Regions from separate parts of the Homo sapiens genome. Here regions 1 and 2 are each linked to region 3. Evidence: promoter capture Hi-C in 16 types of primary human blood cells and fetal thymus (Javierre and others, 2016). All regions are on one chromosome and are shown on one strand. The core of a region is centred on a gene start or on the middle of the fragment in contact, and the rest is flanking DNA. Distances in the headings are between cores, read along the strand shown.

What was found. Contacts are between HindIII fragments. The CHiCAGO score rates a contact against its expected background, and 5 or more counts as called.
Region 1: a fragment that was not itself captured here is called in contact with the fragment with the promoter of DUOXA1 in region 3 in 9 of 17 cell types (naive B cells, naive CD4 T cells, M2 macrophages and 6 more); the score reaches 9.2 in naive B cells.
Region 2: a contact is called between a fragment that was not itself captured here and the fragment with the promoter of DUOXA1 in region 3, in 1 of 17 cell types (naive B cells). The highest score is 6.1, in naive B cells.

What each region holds. Positions count from the first base shown.
Region 1 is chr15:45,269,448-45,272,441 of GRCh38, reverse strand. It overlaps SLC28A2 (solute carrier family 28 member 2), which reads right to left. Exons shown (of 18, transcript NM_004212.4): 14 at 2,907-2,994; 15 at 2,166-2,247; 16 at 49-147. All of the region lies in intron 1 of SLC28A2-AS1 (SLC28A2 antisense RNA 1), which reads left to right. Among named protein-coding and RNA genes, the nearest start is that of SLC28A2-AS1, 8.3 kb to the left of the region's middle. The HindIII fragment of the contact is 8,722 bases long and covers 1-2,994 here.
Region 2 is chr15:45,294,391-45,297,597 of GRCh38, reverse strand. No RefSeq gene overlaps it. Among named protein-coding and RNA genes, the nearest start is that of SLC28A2-AS1, 17 kb to the right of the region's middle. The HindIII fragment of the contact is 8,488 bases long and covers 1-3,207 here.
Region 3 is chr15:45,128,244-45,131,590 of GRCh38, reverse strand. It overlaps DUOXA1 (dual oxidase maturation factor 1), which reads left to right and starts at 1,712. Exons shown (of 9, transcript NM_001276266.2): 1 at 1,712-1,739; 2 at 1,976-2,131; 3 at 2,457-2,573. DUOX1 (dual oxidase 1) reads right to left here and starts at 1,597. Exons shown (of 34, transcript NM_175940.3): 1 at 1,493-1,597. The HindIII fragment of the contact is 6,225 bases long and covers 1,175-3,347 here.

The sequences.
Region 1 (2,994 bases), core at 1-2,500, 140 kb before region 3:
ACCATCACCCTCATGCAGCAGTATCTCCATCAGAGCTGAGGCACCTACCTGCCATACAGGCACTGATAAGGGATACACAGGCCCCTGTGAAGAGGGCCCTGACCACAACCTTGGACAAGTCACTCTTCCGGTGAGGTACTATTGATGCTGCAGACAATAAAATAAAATAACTTCAGCTTTTCCCCACCAAGGCAATCAGGTATATCCCATGGGCCCCCACTTAGAAGAACGCAGAGAAACAAAACACAGCCGATGAAGAGCATCCTTATTACCATCCACCTGAGACTGGCCAGTGTTGCCCTAAGAAGTGTGTGTATACATTAGTCCTGAGGGATCACTAACTTAGACTTTCCTCAGATCAAGTATTGAGTGTCTGACCCTCACTTTAATGGTTCTGTGAACATACCCAAGATGTATCTGGATAAAGCAAGGCTCTGGGTTTCTCCAGACAGGTACAAATGCCTGGCGTTCACTGCTTGAGATACGCACTCTTAAGCCTGGACCAGAATTAGATGGACTATTTTGAGACAGAGGGCTAAGGAAAGCAACACTCATTGTGTGGCCTAAGACTTAGCCACACAATGCATATCCCACTACTAGATGGCAGTCTCATAATCGGACAGTAATCAGGCATCAAGACTAGAACAATACAGTCAGGTGTTTGACAGAAGGGGAAAAGGTAAACTGAAAGGGAATTATTTCACCTTTCAATTAAATTGGCTACCAAGTACATGAATTAAATGACTCTACCCCAGAATATAATTGCCTTTAAAAAGGGACACACTGAGCTATATTTCTTATTATAATCTACTCCTTCTAAGATTCCTTCCTTCCTTCCTTCCTTCCTTCCTTCCTTCCTTCCTTTTCTTCTTTTTTTCTTTCTACAGGACCTCCCCATGTCACCCATGCCGGAGTGCAGTGGTGCAATCACAGCTTACTGGAGGCTCGATCTGAGTTCAAGCAATCCTCCCACCTCAGCCTCCCGAGTAGATAGGACTACAGGCATATGTGCAAATATGCCCAGCTAACTTTCAAATTCTTCGTAGAGACAGAATCTCACCATGTTGCCCCAGGCTGCTCTCAAACTCCTATAGCAAGCAATCTTCCTGCCTTGGCCCAAAGTGTTGGGATTACAGGCATGAGCCACCACATCCAGCCTAAGATCCATTTCTAACTTGGATCTTCCAAACTTGGGATCTGCTAGTCACCCCTGTGCCCCTGCACTCAAGGACAATTCCACTTTCCTCATATTATTCCTCCAACAATCACCCCCATGCAGCAGTATCTCCAACAGTCTAAATATATCTGTGTCTGCTTCAAAGACCCACTCCTTTAACATTTGGTACTTGCATATTTAAATCCAACACTTTACACCACTCTCTCTTACTGTCTATCTGCCTTATGTGCCTGCTGCTTTTATTTGTTTTAATTCTTTGTGTTTCCATGAGGATGACTAGTGAGCAGCCTAATTTCAAAAAGTGTCTTCACTACTGAATAAAATACAAGACCAGGTGTGGTGGCTCACGCCTGTTATCCCAACATTTTGGGAGGCCAAGGCAGCAGATCACTTGAGGCCAGGAATTCAAGACCAGCTTGGCCAACATGGTGAAACCCCGTCTCTTCTAAAAATACAAAAAAAATAATAATAATAATAATGGGCATAGTGGCACACACTTGTAATCCCAGCTCGGGAGGCTGAGGCATGAGAATCACTTAAACCCAGGAGGTGGAGGTTTAAGTGAGCTGAGATCACACCACTGCACTCCAGCCTGCGCAACAGAGTGAGACTCTGTTTCAAAAAAAATTAAATAAATAAATAAATAAATATCTTTATTTATATATGCACTATTCCAATTTAATGGCAAAATTGAAATAATATCATTATATTTTCTTCCTCATAGAGAAAATTAAAATAAAATTAGTTTTTGGGGCCTCCAATCCAAAGGAAAAAGAAGTAACTGAAGTTGAGATTATAAAGGGCTGTATGCATTAGCCAGGTGGGCATGACTGCCTTAGGTCCAAGTTAACTGCAGCCTAAGAAATGGGCCCATTTCACAATGGCTTCTCTATCTGATCCCAGCTTGTACTGAAGCACCAGGACTGCCCACTACAGAAGCTGGGATCTGGCTGTCTTACTGGGGAGCTGGGAAAATGGATGAACTCACTCAAGCCTCCAAGTGTGATTCCTATGGAACTAAGATTGGCAAATCCACAGAGTGAAAATGTTGTAATGATTTCAGCTCTCACCTAGGGAAAACAAAAATAAATAAGCAAATAAATTCAGTCCCATGCGTGCGGTCTTATAATCACAATAGAAGTTCCAGAGTACTGACAGCCCCCAGTCTTTTCCATGGTTTCCCAAGGAACATGAAAGGATGCTCAGAAAACAACTGTTCCCTGAGTTACTATAGGGATAATGACATGGAAACCACCATGGGCCTCATTGCCCAACGCTGTTCCTGTTGAAGGCTATGAATAACGAGAAGGCCTGGGAATGAGAAGGATTGCGAAGGAGGAGGAGAGAGGCAAAGGGAAAGAAAAAGAATATTAATTTGGAGCAATTTAAACTTATAAGTGAAGAAGGGGACCTTAGACCATCAAAAGATAGTGTCTGCCCTGGACTGCCCCAGCTGTAAAGACCCAGCAATTACATTATAGAGAGAAGTTGGGTCACAGTTGGGGCAGTGGTGGGGGTGGCAGGGGGAAAATAGCATGCAGACCCATAATAGCTCAGGCGCTGCAGATGAGGCTGCTAGGTAGGCTGTTCTGCTGGCTTTGTAGTTAGGCCTGCGACCCCAGAAAGGCATCTGCAGGTCTGCAACAAACCTGTTTGGCACTTTCTGTCTACCCTCAGATAACCATGGCTGAGACCTCACGGTGTTTATGCTTTTTGGATTGTCACTTACAGAAATCCACTGTTTCTCTCCCTCAATCCACTCCTCCATTCCAGAGAGACGTTTGTTCTTGTATTGAGACAGTTGCTGATAAGCCACA
Region 2 (3,207 bases), core at 54-2,553, 170 kb before region 3:
AGTAGAGACGGGGTTTCACCATGTTGGCCAGGGTAGTCTAGAATTCCTGACCTCAAGGGATCTGCCCACCTCAGCCTCCCAAAGTGCTGGGATTACAGGTGTGAGTTGCCGCGCCCAGCTAGGATTCTTTTCTATCGCACTGTCAGGCTGCAAATTTCCTGAACTTTTATGCTCTGCTTCCCTTTTAAAACTGAATGCCTTTAACAGCACCCAAGTCACATCTTGAATGCTTTGCTGCTTAGAAATTTCTTCCACTAGATGCCCTAAATCATCTCTCTCAAGTTCAAAGTTCCACATATCCCTAGGGCAGAGGCAAAATGCCACCAGTCCCTTTGCTAAAACATAACAAGAGTCACATTTGCTCCAGTTCCCAACGAGTTCCTCATCTCTATCTGAGACCACCTTAGCCTGGACCTTATTGTTCATATCACTATCAGCATTTTTGTCAAAGTCATTCAACACATCTCTAGGACGTTCCAAACTTTCTCACATTTTTCCTGTCTTCTTTGAGCCCTCCAAACTGTTCCAACCTCTGGCTATTACCCAGTTCCAAAGTCGCTTCCACATTTTTGGGTATCTTTTCAACAACACCCCACTCAACTGGTACCAATTTACTGTATTAGTCCATTTTCACGCTGCTGATAAAGACATACCCAAGACTGGGAAGAAAAAGAGGTTTAATTGGACTTACATTTCCACAAGGCTGGCAAGGCCTCAGAATCATGGTGGGAGGCAAAAGGCACTTCTTACATGGTGGTGGCAAGAGAAAATGAGGAAGATGCAAAAGCGGAAACCCCTGATAAAACCATCAGATCTCATGAGACTTATTCACTACCATGAGAACATTATGGGAGAAACTGCTCCCATGATTCCACTTATCTCCCACTGGGTCCCTCCCACAACATGTGGGAATTATGGGAATACAATTCAAGATGAGATCTGGGTGGGGAACAGATCCAAACCATATCAGTCTGGCTCCAGTGAGTGTGCTGCAAACCCACTATAACCACTGTCTCCGGAAGCCTAGGATGAACATGGCTATAATTCAAGAAGCAAATTACTGAGGCTTCCCTCTTTCTTTGAGTCAGGTTTCAAAGACATGGGAGATGGGGGAGAAGGATGAGGAAGAGGATCAAAGGGTTTTTTTTTGTTTTGGTGCTGTGTTCTCTGAGCTTGGTGGGTTGAATGATGAAGTGGTGATATAGTTTGGATATTTGTTCTCTCCAAATCTCATATTGAAATTGATCTCCAGTGTTAGAGTTGGGGCCTGGTGGGAGACGTTTGAGTCAGGAAGGTGGATTCCTCATGACCAAATTGGCGTCATCCTCACTGTAATGAGTGAGTTCTCTATTAGCTCACAGGAGAGCTGATTGTTTAAAAGAGCATGGCACTCCTGTCCCCTCTCTTGTTCCCTCCCTCACCATGTGACACGCCTGCTCCCCTTTCACCTCCAGCATGGTTGGAAGCCTCCTGAGGTCCTGGCCGGAAGTAGATGCTGGTACCATGCTTCTTGTACAGCCTGCAGAACAGTGGGCCAAATAAACCTCTTCTCCTTATAAATTACCTCAGGTATTCCTTTACAATAATGCAAAACAGACTGAGTAAACATAGAGGATGTGAGTATTCTTTTGAAATCATTTTTAAAATTTATTTGCTAAAATATTAATAGAAAAATTATTAATAGAAAAATTATTAAATGATCTCTTATTAAAATGGAAAAAGATGGCTTGGTGCAGTGGCTCACACCTGTAATCCCAGCACTTTGGGAGGCCAAGGCAGGTGGATCACCTGTGGTCGGGAGTTCAAGACCAGCCTGACTAACAAGGAGAAACACCATCTCTACTAAAAATACAAAATTAGCCAGGCATGGTGGCACATACCTGTAATCCCAGCTACTCAGGAGGCTGAAGCAGGAGAATCGCTTGAACCTGGGAGGCAGAGGTTGTGGTGAGCCAAGATCGTGCCATTGCACTCCAGCTTGGGTAACAAGAGCAAAACTCCATCTCAAAAAAATAAAAAATAAATAAGGAAAAAGACATGACTATTTAATACTAAACCATAGTGAAGAATTTTAAAGAGCAGGATACCCCAGAAGTTTGTAAATAGAAAGTATTTTTGTTTCAATATTAATAGTTAAAGAGATATGTAACAGCTGTGTAAATGTGGGAGTGGGGGGACTGTCCATTAAGTTTATACACTCCTTTCAAATGATTCTGTAGTTGCAAGAATTTCAGCTCACCCTCAAAATGTCTAGAAATAGAGTTTTTCTCCACAAGTGCTATTCTTTGCTATACCACATTACGTCATACAATTTATAGAATGACTATGAGGAATTAAAATGTTAAGATTTTATTTGACATGGTAATGTTTATTATTTCAAACCTAATTCAGGTAGGATCCACAGACAATTTTAAATATTGTTGAGGAAGTTTTCATTGTTAGGATACAGCGAACCAAAACCAAACATTAACATTTTCTATTAGAGATATTGGTGAATTGATTGTAGAATGGGAAGTCACTAGCTTTGCCAACAAAAAGGTAGCCTGAATGAGGAATGCTGAGGAAATGGACCAGTCTTACGCATGGTGGTATGCTTAAACTCCAAAGTCTTTTCCACCTAGGGACTGGCAAAAGATGGTGCCCTCTAGAGAAGTGCTACAATGAAAAGGGAATGGAATGCATGGTGGTTCAGAATGATACAAAGCAATGAGACCGTATTAGTAAGCTAAGCAGCTAGGGAAAGCCTTCAGCAATGACTTCATGAACAAAAATTTATTTTCCCTTTCATACCCCACATTACACCAATAAGAAGTTCTGTAAAGTGTGCAGTAAAAACCACTTCCTTCAATTCTACCCCTGTCAGGGAATCACTCCCCAGGCTTTGTCAAAATCAAGTTTATGCTTTGCAGTTTTATTTATTTCATGGGCTTTCATCTTAAAAATTGAGTTAGCTACTCAGAAGGTACTTCTTGTGGTGGGCCTCTCAGCAGGCCCCTCAACACACCTCACCCTCCTCTCTGCCAGAGTAACACTGTCCTTGCCTCTCTGAGTTAGAGAGTGGCAGTGGGGTCGGCCAGGGAGTTTTGCCACTTACTTTCTAGATAAGTTGTCCTTGCTCAAGAAGGAGGGTGGTACGCGCCCTCACTGGCTCTTTTCAATCCTGGCCCATCATTACTGCTGGAAGAAATCCCCCCAGATTTCTAGTTT
Region 3 (3,347 bases), core at 463-2,962:
TTAGGCAGGGCCCTGCTTGGGGATCAGGAGACTAGGCTGAGGTCTCAGTGCTGCTCCCAGTCCACTGTGGGATCTTAGATAAATCACTTCTCCAATCTGATCCTTGTTTTCCTCTTCCAGCTATGGGAGCAAATATGCCTGAACTGTTTACTTCTAAGCATGGTTGCCAGAATCAAATGTGAGAAGGAGGTTTAATTCAAAGCAAGTGACAGGTGTTGGGCAAATGTGATATAGAGAGGGTAGGCGGGAGCTTGTCTCCTCTGGTTGGATCCAGAAGGGATGCACTACCAGGTGCTCATGTATTTAGTGCAAGCTTCCTGCTCTCTCTCTCTCCACCCAGAGTCAACAGGGAAACAGAGGCAGCAGAGGACTCAGGCTGGGACTCCTGAGTGCGAGTAAGGAGTACCTAAAGCCGGCGAAGACCTCCTGAAGGCAACCTGGAGATTGGGGTTAGGATAGAGGAAGAAAGGAGCTCAGGGAAAGCCTCATCCCCAGCCAAACATCAGGGTTCCTGGATGGGTTGTCTAGAGGAGAGAACCCAGGGAGTGACCTCATCCCTACTCCATCTCCTATTAAATGAAAAAACCTAGGCCCTGCCATAACTGGAAAGCTCAGTATCACCTGCTGCATTTCACAGAGTCTGTCCAGGTGCTGGCCTTTAATAGTGCATGAAGAGCTGGGCTCTGGATGGTTGAAGCTGTAAAGCTGGATATACGGAAGTAGCCACAGCGGTCCTTCCCTGATCCCAAGATGTCATTCCCCTCCCCCGCCACCACCATGTCTTCAGGATCCTGGGCCTCAACGCTAATGTACCACTCAGCCCCTAAGGGCATGAAATGGGCTTTCAGACCAGGCTGTGTGGGGATGACCTGAAGAGGAAGGTGGACATGCTTAATAACCACTCCTTGTGGGTGGGTTGCCCTTAATGATTTACACAACGATGGGGCAGTAACTTCTCAACAACCTTGACAGGAAGGTTGCCCAGGACAGGGCAGTGAAGCCCCAGGCAGAGCCAGCGGCAGAACCAGAGAGAGAACACAGGCCTGCCTGTTCTTGCCCCACATGGCTGCTTTTCCAGCCTGAAGCCCTAGAGTGGTGACCCTGGTGGCCCTGAGGTGGGAGGAAGATGGGTCAAGGCCATCTTGGTCCTAAGGGAGGGCTGAGGGGGAAAGCTTGGATCCTAAAGCCCAAAGCTCCCTCCCTGGTATGTTGTGCTGGTGCCAGGAGAAGAACCCGCAGGCCCAGGCAAACTAGGCCACCCAACATTCCCAGGTCCCAAAGAACCCAGTCTCTCAAAACCTTGATTGGGCAGAGGACAGGCCCTAACAGGACCGGTTTTAGCCTTAGGATAAGATCGGAGGCGCAGGGGGCTAGCATTCCCCTTTCTTCCATAACGTGGAGGAGCTGCGGCTCCCCCGCCACCCTGCCCTTGGAGCTCCCTCCCCCGGAGCGCCCAGGCCCGCGGGCCGGGAAAAGCCCTCCCAAATCTGACCTGCGGCCACGGCGTCACCAGAGCCCGGGACTGCAACTTGTCTCCGGCCTGGCTGCCAGCTGGGCCCGCGGAGCCCTCTCTCGTCCGGTGCCTCTGCAGCTCTGCGCCGGGACGGGCGGGGCTGGGGGTGAGGAGGGGAAGGCACGGCCCGGCTCGGCTCAGCCACGGGGCGGGGCGCAGTGGGGCGGGATGGAGTCTGGCGCCTGGGGAGGCGCGGAGGTGCTTCCAGCGGACGGCAGCGCGCGAGGTGAGACGGCGAGGGCTCCCGGGGCGCAGGTAGAGATGTTCCGTCGGTGCCGAAGGCCCGGCTAGTGCGGTTGTGTGGACGGCGAAAAAAGCAAGTCCGCCTTCACAAGTCCCATGGGGCTGGGGAGAGGGTGGGAGGCGGAGAGGGTATGGGGAGGGGAGACTCTCCTCAGATCCTCTCGACACCGTCGGGTCTGGGCTCCAAGTCCAAGGCCATCGATCACCTGCCACCCACAGACCAGGCCAGGCGTCAAAGCAAGTCACCCATCCGACCTAAACCCCTCTAAGACCCCGGAGTCACGTCTCCCTCCGGGGATCCTCGTGAGGTCTTGGGGGTCCCACCGCCCTGCGAGCCGCGCCCGCGCCCCGCCAGACCCGGAACTGCGTCGCTAGGTTTGCGCTGGAGCTGCTGGGATTGCTGGGCATGGGTGGGGGGGCGCAGAGGAGGAGGGGGGATTGGAGGGACCTCTGCGGAGCTGGCAGACCCCGGTACTACTGTCCTGGCGCACCCAGCCCTTCTCTGTACCAGGCCGGGAGAGGGAGGCGGCGCCGCAGAGCCTCGGGTGCAGTCTGAGAAGTTTGGGAGTGACTTGAAGAGTGACTGGAAGCACCCCAGACCCGGTTTGTCCGGTCACAGCCGGGTCCTTACGTGAGTTAGGAGAGGAGTGGGGGTCGGACGGGAGCCCCACTGAGAGTAAGGGCGCGCGTTTGTTCACAGAACGTCGGGACCTGGTTCCCTCTTTAATCACACCCCCGGGGGCGCTTCGTGTGAGGTTCCACGGGGGAAGGCGAGAGGCGCAGGCTGCCACACACGCACTGTTTGGAAGAGGGGAAGGTAGGGAATAGTGGTCCGGGTGTGGGTGGTGGGGGATGCGGCTGCTTAGATCTGTGCGGTCCAGGTGATTTTGGAGGGGGTCTTGAAGTGCTTGCTCCCGCCCTGGCACCTAGGGCTGCACTTCCTGCTTTCATCCAGACCAAGTTCGGATCAAGTGGGAGTTCTTCAAAGAGAGAGTTTGGTAAGAAACTGGGGAGGCAAGGAAAACCTCTTAAGGCCATAAATGCCACAAGGTTTATAGACATCGAATCGCCATCCCAGTTTAACTCGAGTCTGGATACTTTGGCTTGCATGATTCTGCACCCTTGAATTCCTTATCCACATCAGCCCTTACTGGGGAATCCTGCCTCCAATCCACTTTTCAGATCTTGTTCAATTTCTCCACTTAACTCCTATTTTTGTGCAACAACACACATATACATTCATACACAGATACACACGTACACACAGACCCCTTCCTTGAAGAGGAAAGTCTAGCACAGGAGTTCCTGACAGGGTCCCCTTAGCTAGCCACAGCTGTAAACGTTTAATGGGGTCTACCCCAATCAGAGAAAAAAGCATCACATTGCAGTAGCTGTGCATTACCAATCAGAGGTCTTGGCAACTCCAGCCATGTCACCCACTCCCCACTTGTGGAGAATTAGTGGCCCTTACTCTATAGTTTCCAGCAGATGGGGGAGGTGGGCAAGGGGGAAGACTTCAGGAAAAAAGTCCTGTCAGGCTACAAGAGAGGCCACAAGACGTTAGCACATAACTTTGAATGAAGAAGGCTGG